Regions from separate parts of the Homo sapiens genome. Here all the other regions are linked to region 4. Evidence: promoter capture Hi-C in human tissues and cell types (Jung and others, 2019). All regions are on one chromosome and are shown on one strand. Each heading gives the region's core, a stretch centred on a gene start or on the middle of the fragment in contact. The rest is flanking DNA. Distances are from core to core; before and after follow the strand shown. Region 1 has its middle 37 kb from the start of CHP2. Region 2 has its middle 50 kb from the start of C16orf82. Region 3 has its middle 87 kb from the start of LINC02195. Region 4 holds the start of AQP8 (aquaporin 8).

Region 1 (2,700 bases), core at 51-2,550, 1.4 Mb after region 4:
GTAGTGCATCTCGGAAGAAGCAGCTGATGTGTTTCATATGCAAGTCATGTGGGCCTGGCTTTATGAGAATCGCGATATTCACCAGCTGAATGTGCTCATTGCCAAGGTCATAGTAAATGCTGTGGTTAAGGGCACCCCTGTAATGTGGATGCCCCGTATAACCTTGCTGCTGCAAAATCAAAAGGTAGTTCAAGAAGCCTTATCATGTTTTCTGGGCCAGTCACGGTGGCTTATGCCTGTAATCCCAGCACTTTGGGAGGCCTAGGTGGGCAAATCATTTGAGGTCAGGAGTTCAAGACCAGCCTGGCCAACATGGTGAAACCCCGTCTCTACTAAAAATACAAAGAAAACTTAGCAGGGCTTGGTGGCACATGCCTGTAGTCCCACTACTCAGGAGGCTGATGCAGGAAAATCGCTTGAACCTGGGAGGCAGAGGTTGCAGTCAGCTGAGATCACACTGCACTCCAGGCTGGGTGACAGAGAGAGACTCAGTCTCAACAACAACAATAACAAAAATCAGATTAATTAATAAGAGAATGGGGAAATGCAGACAAGAAAGTCAAAGGATTCATCCCAGGAAGGTGGAAAACACCCTCGATGACTGGAGTGACATCAGAGAAACACTGTAATGAGTGTGACACTGTGCAGCAGAGATCCATGATGAAATGGAAATGGTTTAGCGGATCATTCTACCTGGGGAATGCGAGGAAGAAATACACGCAGAGAGCCTCTTTTCCCCTCAGATAGACTTTGGAATTGTGGGAGGCGTTGCTGGATTCTATTGTCACTTGGATAGTGCCCTACAAACAGTTCTCAAATAACAGCTGGTTGGGGCTGGGCATGGTGGCTCACGCTGGTAATCCCAACACTTTGGGAGGCTGAAGCAGGAAGATCGCTTGAGCCCAGGAGTTGGAGACCAGCCTGGGCAACATGGTAAGACCTCCTCTCTACAAACAATTTAAAAATTAGCCAAGTGCATGCCTGTGGTCCCAGCTACTCAGAAGGCTGAGGTGGGAGGATCGCTTGAGCCCAGGAGTTCAAGGCTGCAATGAGCCGTGTTCATGCCACTGCACTCCAGCCTGGGTGCCTGGGTGACAGAGTGAGACCCTGTCTCAAAACAAACAAACAAACAAACAAAAAAACTGCATGGAGTATGGGTGACAGTTCCAAGTTCCAAGATGAATAGACAACATCTTATTTGGAAAGATGCCACTCTGATCAAAGACAGTAAAAGCAAATCAGCTCAGTGGGCTGAATTGCATGGTGGTTTCCTAGCAGTGATGGAAAGATTGAACAGTAATAAAAAGTCTTTGTGTTTGGGTTTTTACTAACTCATGGGCAGTGGTCAGAGACCTAACCATACTCAGGCAGGAGGGCATGGAAACCTGGCCTATTAAAGAGATGCCCTTATAGGGGACAGCCCTATGGAAGTGTGAGAGTACATTAAAGTAAGACATGGGCTGCCCATCAGAAGAACCTCCTTCCGGGTTTGGAAGGTGATTGGAATCGACAAGCAGATATCCCCATTTGCTCCCTTGTGGGGGCCAGCTGGGTCTATGAGACAGGGCCCTGCAGCAGTGCAGAGACGGGCTGAATCTAGACAGGTTCTTCTTGTGCCCTCTGAGGTACAAAATGCCAGTGAGACTGTTCTGTTTGTCAGCAAGAGAGACAGAAGCTGCTGAGGGCTATGGAAAAGATTCCTTGGTGGGAAGGCCCTGAACGTAGCTGGCAAGTGAGACCGACACTGGTAGCCCTGGGGGACCACAAGTGGGTCTTGACAATAATAGACACTGACTCTGCACTGGGCCTTGCTTACCCAATGGAAGATGCAACTATTCACGATGCCATTAAAAAACAGGATCAAAAATAGTACATGGATTTGGGCAGCTAACTGTCATTTCTTCAGACCAAGGGGCACACTGTACAGGCTGAAATGTCCAGCAATGGGCAAAGAGACATTCTCCTAGAGAAGTGGAGCTGGCTATTAAAATTTATTAGGGCTGGACATGGCGGCTCACACCTATAATCCCAGCAATTTGGGAGGCCAAGGCAGGAGAATCACTTGAACCCAGGAGTTCGATAAAAGCCTGGAAAACATAGTGAGACCTCGTCTCTATAAAAATAAGAAAAAAAATTAGCCAGGTGTGGTGGCATGTGCCTGTAGTCCCAGCTGCTTGGCAGGCTGAGGCAAGAGGATTGCTTGAGCCCAAGAGGTGGAGTCTATAGTGAGCCATGATCACGCCACTACATTCCAGCCTGGGCAACAGAGCAAGACTCTGTCTCCAAAAATAAAATTTAAAAATAAAAAATAAAACTTATTGGTTGTCTAAAATGGGTTAGGCTGGGCATGCTGGCCTATACCTGTAATCCCAGCACTTTGGGAGGCCGAGGATCACTTGAGGACAGGAGTTTAAGACCAGCCTGGGAAATACACAAAGACCCTCATCTGTACAAAAAGAAAAAAAAAATAGTCAAGTATGGTAGCACACATCACAGTCCTAGCTACTCAGGAGGCTGAGGCAGGAGGATCACTTGAGTCCAGGAATTCGAGGCTACAGTGAGCTACAGGCATGCCCCCACCACACCTGGCTAATTTTTGTATTTTCTTTGCAGAGACAAGGTTTCACCATGTTGCCCAGGCTGGTCTCAAACTCCTGGGCTCAAGCAATCTGGCTACCTCAGCCTCCCAAAGTACTGGGA
Region 2 (2,700 bases), core at 153-2,652, 1.9 Mb before region 4:
TACTGTGCCAAAGCACTGAGATTTCAGGTTAATTTGTTACTGCAGCATAGTCCAGGGGCACCCAATCTTTTGGCTTCCCTGGGCCACATTGGAAGAACTGTCTTGGGCCACACATAAAATACACTAACACTAATGATGGCTGATAAGCTAAAAAAAAAAAAAAAGCGCCATGCATAAATCTCATAATGTTTTATGAAAGTTTTTGAATTTGTGTTGGGCCACATTCAAAGCCATTCTGGGCTGCATGTGGCCTGCAGGCTGCAGGCTGGACAAGCTTGGTTTAAGCTATTCTGACTGTTGTGAACATGTGGCCCCCACTTGGGAAATATTATCTTTGAAAAACTTTTTTTTTTTTTTTTTTTTTTGAAATGGAGTCTCATTCTCTTGCCCAGGCTGGAGTGCAGTGGTGCTATCTCAGCTCACTGCAACCTCTGCCCTCTGGGTTCAAGCAATTCTCCTGCCTCAGCCTCTCAAGTAGCTGGGATTACAGGTGCACGCCACCATGCCCGCCTAACTTTTGTATTTTTGGTAGAAATGGAGTTTTGCCATGTTGACCATGCTGGTCTCGAACTCCTGACCTCAAGTGATTTGCCCGCCTCAGCTTCCCAAAGTGCTGAGATTACAGGCGTGAACCACCACGCCCGGCCTTTCTTTGAAAAACTTTTGACTAATGTTGGGCCTTCTCAGTTGGGACCCTTATTTCCTTTCTCCTACTCTCCTCCCTTACTGTTTCCTATTCTTCTTCCTTCTCTCTTCCTCCTCCCCTCCCCATGCATTCAGCTAATTCCGTCTCTGATTACCCAACATCACTCTGGGCTCTGCTGGAAGACTCAGAGCCTATAAAGCTTCAGAGGGGCCTCAGTGTTATTTTAGTCAGGCAAACTCCACAGGTAGGAGTTACTTCTCCACACCTCTGACAGTGTCACTTGCATACCTGCAGGAATAGGAAACTCGCTTCCTTTCATGGTAGTCCTTTCCATCACTGGGCAGCTCCATCTAAGAGGCACTTTCTCTTGTGATTAATCAGACAACATTTACACCCCCAGTCATTTCTACTCTTCCCCATGCAGAGTTCTTGCAGAATAGCTGTCCCTGATAAGGACAGCCCTTCCGAGGCCCAGGAAGAAGTCTCAAGGCTTCTCAGGCTCATTCAAGTCGCAAGACACACACACACCCAATGGAGGATTCTGGCAACGTACCATGTGGTAGAAATGTCAGTCCACATCTCAGGTGCATGGGAAATATCACTCTCTTTATTCATTCACTTCACACTATGGTTGGGATGTTTGTCTCCTCCAAATCTCATGTTGAAATGTGATTCCCAATGTTAAAGGTGGTGCCTAGTGGGAAATGGGGGCAGATCCCTCATGAATGTCTTGGTGCCCTCCTGGTGGTAATGAGTGAGTTCTCATTCTATTCATGTGAGATCTGGCCGTTAAAAATTTAGAGCCTGGGAAAGATGGTGACCAGAGGCTGCGAAGGGTAGTGGGGGGTGCCGGTTGGTGGCGGGGAGGAGTTGGGAAGGCTAATGAGTACAAAAATAGTTAGAAAGAATGAATAAGGGCCAGGTGCAGTGGCTCATGGCTGTAATCCCAGCACTTTGGGAGGCCAAGGCGGGTGGATCACTTGAGGTCAGGAATTCAAGACCAGCCTTGCCAACATAGTGAAACCCCATCTCCACTAAAAATACAAAAATTAGCCAGGTGTGGTGGTGGGTGCCTGTAGCTCCAGCTACTCAGGAGGCTGATGCAGGAGAATCACTTGAACCTGGGAGGAGGAGGTTGTAGTGAGCTGAGGTCATGCCACTGCATTCCAGCCTGGGCAACAGAGCGAGACTTCATCTCAAAAAAAAAAAAAAAAAAAAAAAAAAAGGAGAATTAGACCTAGTATTTGATAGATTTGATAGCACAACAGTGTGACTATGGTCAATAATAATTTAATTACACATTTATAAATAACTAAAAGAGTGTAATTGGCTTGTTTGTAACACAAAGGATAAATGCTTCCAATGATGGATCCCCCGTTTACCTTGATAGGATTATTATGCATTGCCTGCCTGTATCAAAATCTCTCATGTACCCCATAAATATATACACTACTATGTACCCACAAAAGTTGAAAAATTAAAGGAAGAATAGAGTCTAGGACCTCCCATGTCTCTCTTGCTCCCTCTCATCATGTGACACGTTGGCTCCTCTTCCTCTCTGCCATGATTAAAAGCTTCCTGAGGCCTCACCAGAAACTGAGCAGATGCTGGCACCATGCTTGCACAGCCTGCAGAACCTTGAGCCAAATAAACCTCCTTTCTTTTAATAAATTACCCAGCCTCAGGTATTCCTTTACAGCAATGCAAAATGGACTAACAAAGTTCATAACCATGTTTAATTTGTGTCCATTCTTCCAATCAATTTAGGTTTCCTTACATTCCTTGGGGTTACCCCTAAGTTCGGCAGGGGCGGAGGTCAGGGTGTTGGGGAGGGGACATCCATGATTTTCTGAGATTCTCAGCCAGTCTTTGACGTCAGGCCATGCGTGCTGCTGTGGCGCTGTGTATAACTGCATCCAAGTCTGAGGGATGCTCCTTGCTGCCCTCGAATGCCAACTCCTGGGTGCATTGAGATCAGGTGGGTGCCCATGCTAAGTTCAATGAGATGCACTGGGAAGTTACTGAGCTTTTCTTTCCTTTTCTTTTTCTTTTCT
Region 3 (2,700 bases), core at 186-2,685, 1.3 Mb before region 4:
GGTGAAAGAGTGTTCTATGTGTCATCTGAAATTATCCTTTCTCCATCCTTCCACTTTCAGAGCTCTGAGAATTCCAATGTCTTGAAAAGCCATCATTTTATTTTCTCCCAACTCCTCAGCCTCTGGCTGCAGCCTCCTTCATAGTGAACATCCTTCAAAGTGCTCCAGGGAAATGCCCAGAGAGAAGTAACTTTTTAGGTTTTTTTTGTTGGTTTGTTTGTTTTCCAGAACCAAATATTTAGGCTCTTCAGAGAATGGTCTTCCCCAGAGTACACAGAATCCTGCAGCTTGATTTGGCCTCAATCTGGTGCTCCCGATTTCAAGAAAGAATGTCACTGGAACCAAACCAATAAGTTATTTGAATCAAATTCCTACCCAGTACAAAGGCTGATTCCGCAACATCTCTGACAAGGAAGTCGCTCTGCCCCAACTTGAACATGGTTTAATGACAAGAGGCTCATTCCTTTTCCATCCCTACATGCCGTGTGGGCTTTGGAAGTCAATTTCTCACAATGAGCCCAAACCTACCCTTTTACAACTTCGATTCATTAGCCTGTTTCTATCACTTGGTCTATAGGTGATTAAGCAGTTCAGTTTTCTTTTTTTTTTTTTTCTCCTCCTCCTCTTCCACCTCTTCCTACCAGGCGCTGTCCAAAGATTTCACATATGATCTCACTTGAAATTTCATAGCAGCAAATAAATATGATGCAATTCACTCTGGGAAGCCAAGGCAGGTGGATCACCTGAGGTCAGGAATTCAAGATCAGCCTGGCCAACATGGTGAAACCCCATCTCTACTGAAAATACAAAAATGAGCTGGGTGTGGTGGTGGGCGCCTGTAATCCCAGCTACTCGGGAGACTGAGGCAGGAGAATTGCTTGAACCTGGGAGACAGAGGTTGCAGTGAGCCGAGATCATGTCACTGCACTCCAGCCTGGGAGACAGAGCGAGACTCCACCTCAAAATAAATAAATAAAATAAATTTGATACAATTAAGATTGGTACTTTACAAATGAGGAAATGCAGCGGTCAAGCAACCTCTTATCCCTATGTGATTTGTATTGGATTGCACACCTACTAACTGGAAAAGCCAATCTCACACTATAAGTTTATGCTCTTGACATCCATCCTATTGGAATTGAGGCCTAGGTTTAATGATATTGGATAGCTTATGATCAAGGACCCAGGAATACCCAAATATAAACACAATACTCCCTCTAATTTCACCATGAAGAGGCTAAGGAATATACACATGTAATCAAAACAGCATTAAAAAAAAATACTTGCACCAGTGCCAGTCCATTGAATTCAGAGCTCTGGTGAAAGTCTGAGTTGGGACACTCAGTTTATACTTGAGGCTTAATAGATACTTTGATTGATCTCAACCCAACATCAAGCCCCTCTTTTCCCTAAATCTAAGTATTAGGCTGGGAACAGTGGCTTATATCTATAATCCCAGCACTTTAGGAGGCTGAGGCAGCAGTATCCTGTGAGGCCAGGAGTTCAAGACCAGTCTCAGCAACATAACGAGACCCCCATCTCCACAAACATTTTTTTTTTAATTAGCCTGGCATGGTGGCACACACTTGTAGTCCCAGCTACTTGGGAGGTTGCGGCAGGAGGATTGCTTGAGCTCAGGAGGTCGAGGTTGCAGTGAACTATGATGGTGCCACTGCACTTCAGCCTGGGTGACAGAGTGAGACCTTGTGCTAAAAATACATACATACATACACACATAAAATTGGTAAACAGCCTCATGTGAGCCTATCTGCTGGTTATTCTGTAGCTGCCCCCCATACATTTTTCAGCCTTCTAAGCCATGCCTGGTACCCCAGGAGGCTGGACATATATATACCACATCACCGGGACCCCTTTACTGACTCGCTTCCCATTGAGATAAAACAACGACAGCACTTGCAGAAGCTCAGACAGTGGGAGGAAAAAGCAGCTGAGATGTTTTCCTCTGCCTCACCCCTGTTTTGGTGCCTTCGTATTTGTAGAAGTTCAGCGCGTCTATGGCTCCTTTAGCGCAGCCCCCTTCTCCATGGCTCCATGTCTCATTGAGCTCTCAAATGCCAGTTTCTTACCTTGCACTTTCCAGCTTTGGGAAGTAGTGTTGGAGTCTCATTTTTGCTGGTCCCTTGGTGTCTCATTATCTTTTGTGGATTTCCTGAACCCTCCCCACACCTCCATAAATAATATCTTTATTAAAGGTTTGAGCCATTGGGAATGGAATTCTATTTTCTATCAGGGCCATGATAAGTCACACACATAGCCTATGTAAGAAAAAGCTGGCTAAATCTCTAGAGCAAACCTGAATTTACTTACCCATTCATTGATACTGAGTCAGAAAGAGAGAGAGAGGGGGTCTCAAGGGAATCCTTGACTTAGCTTATGCATTTAGACATAAAAAGTGAGAAAAAGAAGGAGCACCATACATAGGCAGTACCTACCTGTTACAACTCAATGAACCCACCACCCGCTGGCAACCATGGACTGATCCAAATAGCAACCTCTGCAGCTTTGGGCAGGGATATGGAAGGTAAGCTTGCCAAGAGGAGAGATGTCTAAGACTCCCCTCCCATCATTTGTAACATTTTCTCTATGACAATTATTTGAACCATGAAAAAATGCCAAACCAGGCCCATTGACTGACTAATTGATTGTTACAGGTCTGGTACCTTCTACTGCTCCTTATTT
Region 4 (2,700 bases), core at 5-2,504:
TGCCTGTTGTATGTTTGGTGTGTGCCAGGCGCTCTACTTCATTTAATTCTCATGACTTCCGCATGAGGCACTTGGATTTGAGCGCTGGAGCCAGACAGCTTGTTCTTGACTCCCGCCTCTGCCACTTTCTGGCCCTCTAAGCTTGGACAGATTACATGGCCTTTCACTTTTGCAGCTGTACAATGGGGCTAATAACAGGACCTACCCCACAAGGCTTTTGTGAGGATTAAATAACTAATATCTATAAAGTAATTAGACTAGTGCCTGGTACATGGTTAGCAATATAGATATGTTGGCTTGAAAAAAAAAACATTTAAAAGCTACTATTCCCATTTTATAGGCGGGGAACTTTGGGTTTAGAGAGTAACTTGCCAGCCAGGCATGGTGTCTCATGCCTGTAATCCCAAAACTTTGGGAAGCCAAGGCAGGAGGATCGCTTGAGACCAGGAGTTCAAGACTAGCCTGGGCAACATAGTGAGACCCCATCTCTACAACAAAATTTAAAAATTAGTTGGGTGCTGCGGCGCATGCCTGTGATCCAGCTACTCAAAAAGAGAATGACTTGCTCAAAGTCACAAGCTCACAGGCTGCGGGGTCTGGAGTTGACCCCAGTCTGACTCCCAACCCCATAGTTATCCAGAGCGCTCCTTGAAATCCCGAATACGTATGCGCCCAGGGGTCCTTGACAACGCCTTTGCTTTCCACACCCAGTGCCCCAAGTCAGCATCAGGCTGAATCCTCAGAGCTGGTCTCACCTGATATTCCCCAGCGTGGCAATCACGAGCCCCAAAGCCAGCCCGTGGGCCAGGGCCGGCTGCAGCAGCCCAGTGTCCGTCCCATTCTCAATGACCGACAGGCACCCGATGAAGATGAAGAGAGCAGAGCCCAGCAGTTCGACCAGACATGGCTGCACAAACCGTTCGTACCAGGACACTCGCCACCTGCCACCCACGCTCGGCTCCCTGGCCTTGTCATTGCCAAATTCAGGCTCACACATGGCTATCTGCCGTAGGGAAAAAGGGACAGAGGACACGGGTGGGAGGCAAGTCCAGATATAGAAGGCCCCGACCCCCAACCTTGAATTAATTCACAGCCCCCCTTGCTCTGCCAGCCTGGAGAGGAAGATGCCGACAGAGGGCTCACCTCTCCAGACATCAGGATCAGATGGCACAAACATCGGACTCTTGCCTGAGCTGCTGGGAAACCTGCACCTGCTGTGCAAGATACTCTTATCTCCTAGGGACAGGACCTGCTGATCACACTATGGGCTCTGCCCCTTTTAAAGGGCTGCAGAGGCTCAATGCTGGTGCAGAGAAAGCAATAAACCTCAGGTAGGAGGCGGCTCTGAGGCCCAGAAGAGGAAATTTTTTTAAATCTCAACAGGGCAGGGTGAGGGAGTCAGGGATTGCTGAACTTTCCGCCAGTGAGGGAAAAACACGCCAGCTTGGCTGTGTCATCTGGGAGCACACTCCAGGCTGTAGAAGGTGGGAGATGGGTCCAGCACCCCAGCTCCCCACGGTCCAAAGCAGAACAGCACATGTTAGTGGGCCCCACTGGGTTGGAACCTCACATGTTAAGAAACAGCAAACAGCCAGGTGCAGTGGCTCACGCCTGTAATCCCAGCACTTTGGGAGGCCGAGGCAGGTGGATCACGAGGTCAGGAGATTGAGACCATCCTGGCTAACACGGTGAAACCCCGTCTCTACTAAAAATACAAAACTCAGCCGGGCGTGGTGGTGCACGCCTGTAATCCCAGCTACTTGGGGGGCTAAGGCAGGAAAATCATTTGAACCTGGGAGACGAAGATTGCGCAGAGCCAAGATTGTGCAACTGCACTCCAGCCTGGGCAACAGAGCAAGGCTCTGAAAAAAAAAAAAAAGGAAAGAGAAAGAAGAAAGAAAGACAGAGAAAGAAAGAAAGGAAAGAAAAGAAAGAAAGAAAGAAAGAAAGAAAGAAAGAAAGAAAGAAAGAAAGAAAGAAAGAAAAAGAAAGAAAGAAAGAAAGAAAGAAAGAAAGAAAGAAAGAAAGAAAGAAAGAAAAAGAAAGAAAAAGAAAGAAAGAAAAGAAGGAAGGAAAGAAAGAAAGAAAGAAAGAAAGAAAGAAAGAAAGAAAGAAAGAAAGAAAAAAGAAAAAGAAAGAAAAGAAGGAAGGAAGGAGAAAGAAAGAGAGGGCGTGTTGGTGTTTGCCTGTAATCCCAGCTACTCAGGAGGATGAGGCATGAGAATCACTTGAACCCAGGACCCAGAGGTTGCAGTGAGCCAAGATCGCGCCACTGCACTTCAGCCTCAGAGTGAGACCCTGTCTAAAAAAAAAAAAAAAAAAAAGAAAGAAAGAAAGAAAAAAGAAAAGAAAGAAACAGCAATCCCATTTTCAATTATTTTTCCAATGAGTCCCACAGCTTCAAACACCTGCAGTCACCGTGACAGCCTGAGCCAGGACTGAGTGTATAGATGACGATCCTTCACAGACAGAGGCAGCAGAGACTGGCAAGAGGTAATGCAATGCAGCGGCAAGACCCATGAACTTTGGAAATAGGCTGCCTGGCGTTCAATCCCAGCTCTGCTGTAAACTAGCTATGTAACCCTTGGGCACATGACTTGGCCTCTCTGGGCCTTTGTTTTCTCATCTGTTAGGTGTGGATGTTAGTGGTTTCACCATGTCATAGGGTCGTTGGGAAGTTTAAATGAGATAATACGGGTA

The links. Contacts are between HindIII fragments. The study calls those that stand out against the background at their distance.
Region 1: a contact is called between a fragment that was not itself captured here and the fragment with the promoter of AQP8 in region 4, in 1 of the 25 tissues and cell types used here (aorta).
Region 2: a fragment that was not itself captured here is called in contact with the fragment with the promoter of AQP8 in region 4 in 1 of the 25 tissues and cell types used here (dorsolateral prefrontal cortex).
Region 3: a fragment that was not itself captured here is called in contact with the fragment with the promoter of AQP8 in region 4 in 1 of the 25 tissues and cell types used here (dorsolateral prefrontal cortex).

Annotation. Positions count from the first base shown.
Region 1 is chr16:23,791,090-23,793,789 of GRCh38, reverse strand. No RefSeq gene overlaps it. Among named protein-coding and RNA genes, the nearest start is that of CHP2, 37 kb to the right of the region's middle. The HindIII fragment of the contact is 5,063 bases long and covers 1-2,700 here.
Region 2 is chr16:27,115,842-27,118,541 of GRCh38, reverse strand. No RefSeq gene overlaps it. Among named protein-coding and RNA genes, the nearest start is that of C16orf82, 50 kb to the right of the region's middle. The HindIII fragment of the contact is 3,082 bases long and covers 1-2,700 here.
Region 3 is chr16:26,507,139-26,509,838 of GRCh38, reverse strand. No RefSeq gene overlaps it. Among named protein-coding and RNA genes, the nearest start is that of LINC02195, 87 kb to the left of the region's middle. The HindIII fragment of the contact is 3,334 bases long and covers 1-2,700 here.
Region 4 is chr16:25,215,501-25,218,200 of GRCh38, reverse strand. AQP8 (aquaporin 8) reads right to left here and starts at 1,254. Exons shown (of 6, transcript NM_001169.3): 1 at 1,144-1,254; 2 at 756-1,003. The coding sequence starts at 1,155. The HindIII fragment of the contact is 27,087 bases long and covers 1-2,700 here.